2 separate regions of the Homo sapiens genome follow, and region 1 is linked to region 2. Evidence: promoter capture Hi-C in 16 types of primary human blood cells and fetal thymus (Javierre and others, 2016). All regions are on one chromosome and are shown on one strand. Each heading gives the region's core, a stretch centred on a gene start or on the middle of the fragment in contact. The rest is flanking DNA. Distances are from core to core; before and after follow the strand shown.

What was found. Contacts are between HindIII fragments. The CHiCAGO score rates a contact against its expected background, and 5 or more counts as called.
Region 1: the fragment with the promoter of RSBN1L here is called in contact with the fragment with the promoter of BAZ1B in region 2 in 1 of 17 cell types (non-activated CD4 T cells); the score reaches 8.4 in non-activated CD4 T cells.

The regions. Positions count from the first base shown.
Region 1 is chr7:77,695,050-77,697,749 of GRCh38, forward strand. It overlaps RSBN1L (round spermatid basic protein 1 like), which reads left to right and starts at 1,410. Exons shown (of 8, transcript NM_198467.3): 1 at 1,410-2,006. The coding sequence starts at 1,421. APTR (Alu-mediated CDKN1A/p21 transcriptional regulator) reads right to left here and starts at 1,216. Exons shown (of 2, transcript NR_134254.1): 1 at 847-1,216. RefSeq lists enhancers at 505-1,400, 1,401-2,296, 1,481-1,710 and silencers at 1,231-1,450, 1,921-2,240, 2,531-2,630. The HindIII fragment of the contact is 2,163 bases long and covers 759-2,700 here.
Region 2 is chr7:73,520,857-73,523,556 of GRCh38, forward strand. BAZ1B (bromodomain adjacent to zinc finger domain 1B) reads right to left here and starts at 1,437. Exons shown (of 20, transcript NM_032408.4): 1 at 971-1,437. The coding sequence starts at 1,077. RefSeq lists silencers at 681-1,560, 1,911-2,050 and an enhancer at 1,621-1,780. The HindIII fragment of the contact is 2,091 bases long and covers 8-2,098 here.

The DNA of each region.
Region 1 (2,700 bases), core at 160-2,659, 4.2 Mb after region 2:
CCATAAATAATCGCCAACGAATTTTTCCTGGCAAGTCTACGTTATAATAATAATAATATTATTATTATTATTATTATTTTTTGAGACGGAGTCTTGCCCTGTCGCCCAAGCTGGAGTGCAGTGGCGCAGTCTCGGCTCACTGCAACCTCCGCCTCCTGGGTTCAAGCGATTCTCCTGCCCCAGCCTCCCCAGTAGCTGGGATTACAGGTGCGCGCTTCCATGCCCAGCTAATTTTTGCATTTTTAGTAGAGACGGGGTTTCACCATGTTGGTCAGGCTGGTCTCGAACTTCTGACCTCGTGATCCGCCCGCCCCGGTCTCCCAAAGTGCTGGGATTACAGGTGTGAGCCACCGCGCCCGGCTATAATAATTATTATAAAATTCAAATCTTAAGGCCGCACATGGTGGCTCACGCCTGTAATCCCAGCACTTTGGGAAGCGGAGGTGGGCCGCTCACCTGAGATCAGGAGTTCGAGTCCAGCCTGGCCAACATGGTGAAACCCCGTCTCTAATAAACACAAAAATTAGCCAAGCATGGTGCCGGACGCCTGTAGTCCCTGTTACTGGGGAGGCTGAGGCAGGAGAATCGCTTGAATCTGGGAGGCGGAGGTTGCGGTGAGCCGAGATCGCGCCACGGCACTCCAGCCTCGACAACAGAGCAAAACTCCGTCCCAATAAATAAATAAATAAATAAAATAAAAATCTTAAGGGTCTAGTCACAACAGTTCAAAAGTCTCCAAAGGGAGACTCTCACCTTCAAGCTTGTAAGTAATACTAAAGTTCTAGATTTGCTGGAAGTTATCTCCTTCAATGGATTACAGCACATGATCTAGCAATAATAACGTACCTTGTCACCACATCGAATGATTTTGAACACTTCCCATCAATCGACTACCGACTAACAAAAAGAAGGACTTGATTCCCGGCAATTTTTTCTCTTCTGAACTGAGCATTCCCGAAATCCAGCTTGCTGAACGCGCAGATGCAGGGTGAGAGGCACCCCAGGAAAAATGGAAGGGAAAGTGGTACAAGTTAAAACAGTCTTCGTGGCCGCAGAGACGATCGCTACCTCGGCCATGGCAGATCTGGGGGTCCGGGGCGGGGGTTCTTCCCTGATACCCACCGGGCACGCGAGTTCACGCCAGCGACAGTGGAAAGCCCTCCCCTCGCAGCGCGCTCCGCCACTAGCCGCACCCCGCCGAGCTCTGACCTCCGAAGAGGGTCCCTGTGGCGATCCCGCCCCTTCGTCTGATGTTTGTGCCTTTGATTGGCTCTTAGGTGGATCCCTCAGCGTGGCTTGCCCAATGGAGCAATGCCGGCTGGTGGCCTGGCCGCTCCGCCCCTTCCCTACCCCTCGCGGAGGGCCCGCCCCCTGCCCCGCGCCGGCTAGCGGAGGAGAGTAAATACAACAGGAGCGCAAAATGGCGGAACCGCCGAGCCCCGTGCACTGTGTCGCTGCCGCGGCCCCCACCGCCACCGTCTCGGAGAAAGAACCGTTTGGCAAGCTGCAACTCTCCTCCCGGGACCCTCCGGGTTCTCTGTCCGCCAAGAAGGTCCGGACTGAGGAGAAGAAGGCACCGCGGAGAGTGAACGGAGAAGGGGGCAGCGGCGGGAACAGCAGGCAGCTGCAGCCGCCGGCAGCACCTTCGCCTCAGAGCTATGGCAGCCCCGCGTCTTGGAGCTTTGCCCCTCTGTCTGCTGCTCCCTCCCCGTCCTCTTCTCGGAGCAGTTTCTCTTTCTCCGCTGGCACGGCCGTTCCCTCCTCAGCCTCCGCTTCCTTGTCTCAGCCGGTGCCGCGCAAACTGCTGGTCCCTCCTACGCTGCTGCACGCTCAGCCTCACCATCTCCTCCTGCCCGCCGCCGCCGCCGCTGCCTCGGCTAACGCCAAGTCGCGCAGACCTAAGGAGAAGCGGGAGAAGGAGAGGAGGAGGCACGGTCTCGGTGGGGCCCGAGAGGCCGGCGGGGCCTCCCGGGAGGAGAACGGGGAGGTGAAGCCGCTGCCCCGAGGTGGGTGCCGTGCGGGGAGGGGGAGGGGAGGGCGCCGTGGGTCCCCGCCGCCCCCTGGCGCCCACGGGGCCCGGGAAGGGGGAGCGCGGCGGCCGCGTGCGCCGGCCTGGAGGGGCTGGGAGGCGTCCGGTTTTCAGCAGAGGATTTTGCAGTTCCCAAGGGGACAGGAAATGGAGCCTGTAATTTCGGTTGCAGAGAGGGGGATGGCCGACACTCTTATTTTCTGTATCGTTTCTTCCTCCCAGTTAGTGCGCTGCAGGATTTGTGAAAATCCATCTTGAGGACTCTCCTAGGTTTGTTTGGCTAGGGAGAGAGATGGAGGGAACGGGATGGGGGAAGGGTTTGGTTTTGTAAAAGATGCTTGATTGATTGTTAGACCACTTAGACGTGGTCGCGGGAATTCGTATTTGTGACACAGCGTTCAACCCCGGATAATCCTGTCAAAAAAGGGGTGTGGAGAGAGCACTGGCGTCAGCTGGAAGCTACCAGAGGCCTGAGCTTTTCATCCCTATTAGGGAAATGAGGTAGCGTGCAGGGCCCGAAGTGCGCTGTTTCGTAAGGTACCCTCCCTGCACCCTACTCTCCGCTGCGTATTCTTAAGTGTTTTGGGTGGTCCTGTTTGAAATACCACCCTTCTGAAAGAATTTTCAGCCATATTCTTTTTTTCCCTGCAGCAAATGATAAAACCAGGAGC
Region 2 (2,700 bases), core at 187-2,686:
CTCTTAAAGCTTTCAGTCACCAAAGAAATGCTTGATTCCGAAATCGTTTTTGTTTTTTTTACAGATAAGCCTCAAAAACGATTCTTCTGGCACCCATTAAAAAAAAGCAAATAAAAGCTGCACAACTTTTCACTAAAAGATAATGCTTATGCAAGAAATCTTAGTCATGACGAGAGGATGCTTCCTTTGTAAAACATCCAATTTCATGTTCCTAAAATACAACATAAAAACTTCACGTCTTGGTTTTTTTGTTTGTTTAATTTTAACAAATACCAATCTCCTTCTAAACCTTCAAAATTTCAAACCTGTGTCTGCCCAGGGAAGGCAGGCATCAGCTCCTCCACAGGCAGTTTCCTTCCCTCCCTTTCCTCTAAGCGGGGAATCTCATTCCTAGTTTTCTGCCCCAGGGTCCTGTCAGTTCATCCCCGGCCTAAAGTCCCCTCGGGAGACGAAAAAAACGCCAAGTATCCCCGCAGAGATCGGGGTAAGACGCAGTTGAGTCTTGCACACGCCGCATCACGAGGCCGCGCGAGTACAATTTCAAAACTTAAGCTGCAGGTTTCATTTAAATTTTTAAAAAATTTTTGTAAAAATTAAAGGAGAAAACCTAGCTCCCCCTCCCCACGCCTCCTCCTCCCTCTCGGGTCCTCAAGGCCTAAAGCCAACCCGGGGAAGGTAATGGGGATGGGGGATGCGCTCCTCGCCGGCGAGGCCCCGGGACAAAGTGCGGGGCCCCGGGGGCGGCCGAAGCGGGCCCTTCTCCTTCCAGGGCCGGTGCGCGCCCCCCGCCGGATCCCCTGGAAGGATCGGCGGGCGCAGGCTGAGACTCAGCCTCCAGGCCCGCGAGCGGCCGGGGCGCGCTGACAGCTGCCCCGGGCCGGGGATGCGCGGCTGACCTGGTCTCGCGAGCCCCAGGCCCTACCCCGGCCCAGCCCGGCCCAGCCCGGCCCGCGCGGCTGGAAAAGGATACTCCCGGGTGCGGAAGGCCTCCTGAGTGTGCGGGATGGTGAAGAGCGGCTCCTCTCCGGGCAACGGCTTCACCAGCGGGAAGGGCTTGCGGCCCAGGAGCGGCGCCATCGCGGCGGCGGCGGTGGGGACTGGCGGCTGCTGGGGCCGGCCCCGCGGCGCAGCACTAGGCCCCGCGGCCCGGAGCGAGCGCCAGGCGCCCGGGGGTGGGGTGGGGGAAGGGAGGGGTGAGAGGGCGGCGCGAACTCCGGCTCCCTCACCGCCGGCGCGGCCGCGCGACAGTCATGGAGCGGAACGCCACGGCGCAGAGCTCCCGCGCACACCGCCGCGCCTCCCAGCAGCCCCCCGCCGACCTCCGCTTCGGGTCCCGGCGGCCGGCAGTCACGACTCCTCCTCAGCAGCACCGGAGGAAATTATTGAAAAATGGCGGGAGATTCCCCTCCTCCCCCGGGCCCGGCCAACGCACACACTAACTTGCTCCCCCGTGGCGCCGGTGGCGAATGCTCCAATAGGCGGAGAGCTGGTCAGCGCTCACAGCCTATTGGCTCGGAGGAGCTGCCGCTCCGCGCCTGGGTCCCGCCCCCCTGCCCCTGTCGCGTAGTTGGGTTGCAGCGCACTAGAGGGCAGTCTGAAGAGGTGAAAGGTCACGTTATGTAAGCGCCCGTGATAGGCGTGCGGGCCTCCGACGGCAGAGTTAAAAGTGGGGGACAGCGGGGGATGGAGAGGACGAGAACTCAAAGAGGTCAAGCCGGAGAAGCCCCTCGCATATACAGATACTGCGCCATCTGTCACCGACGGCGACACCGACATCCGGGCACCACTGTCCGTGTGGTGCGCCGGAGGGGGAGGGTGAGCGCGCGGCCAGGGGCTTTGTCTTTCCTCTTGGGCGCCTCCCCCTTCTTAAAGGCGCCGTGCTCGGCCACGCCCGGGGATGCGCGGGTGGGGCTGGGCTGCAGGGAGGGGTTGGCGGGAAGTGGCCCCGGGAGCTTACCCTACCAAAGGTTCTGCGGAAGGACAACGTGGGGGCCAGCTTTGCTCACCCCAGAGTTAACTTCTGGGCGGGAGTGTGGTTGAGATCTGGGTAGAAGTATACTGCTTGTTTCTAGGGGCTGGCTGGAAAGTAGAATATAGAAGCTTCTTTGGAGAAATAGATTAAAAGACGTACTTAGTTTTTTGGTTTTTGGTTTTTGTTTTTTTTGAGACGGAGTCTCGCTCTGTCGCCCAGGCTGGAGGGCAATGGCGCGATATCGGCTCACCGCAACCTCCGCCTCCCGGGTTCAAGAGATTCTCCTGCCTCAGCCTCCCAAGTAGCTGGAATTACTGGCGTGCACCACCACGCCCGGCCAATTTTGTATTATTAGTAGAGACGGGGCTTCTCCATGTTGGTCAGGCTGGTCTCAAACTCCCGACTTCAGGTGATCCGACCGCCTAGGCCTCCCAAAATTATCATTATTTTTTTTTTTGAGACGGAGTTTCACTCTTGTTGCCCAGGCTGGAGTGCAGTGGTGCAGTCTCGGCTCACTGCAACCTCTCCCTCCCGGGTTCAAGCTATTCTCTTGCCTCGGCCTCCCGAGTAGCTGGGACTACAGGTGCGCGCCACCACACCCGGCTATTTTTTGTATTTTGTAGAGACGGGGTTTCACCATGTTGGTCAGGCTGGTCTCGGACTCCTGATCTCAGGTGATCCACCCGCCTCGGCCTCCCAAAGTGTTGGGATTACAGGCGTGAGCCACC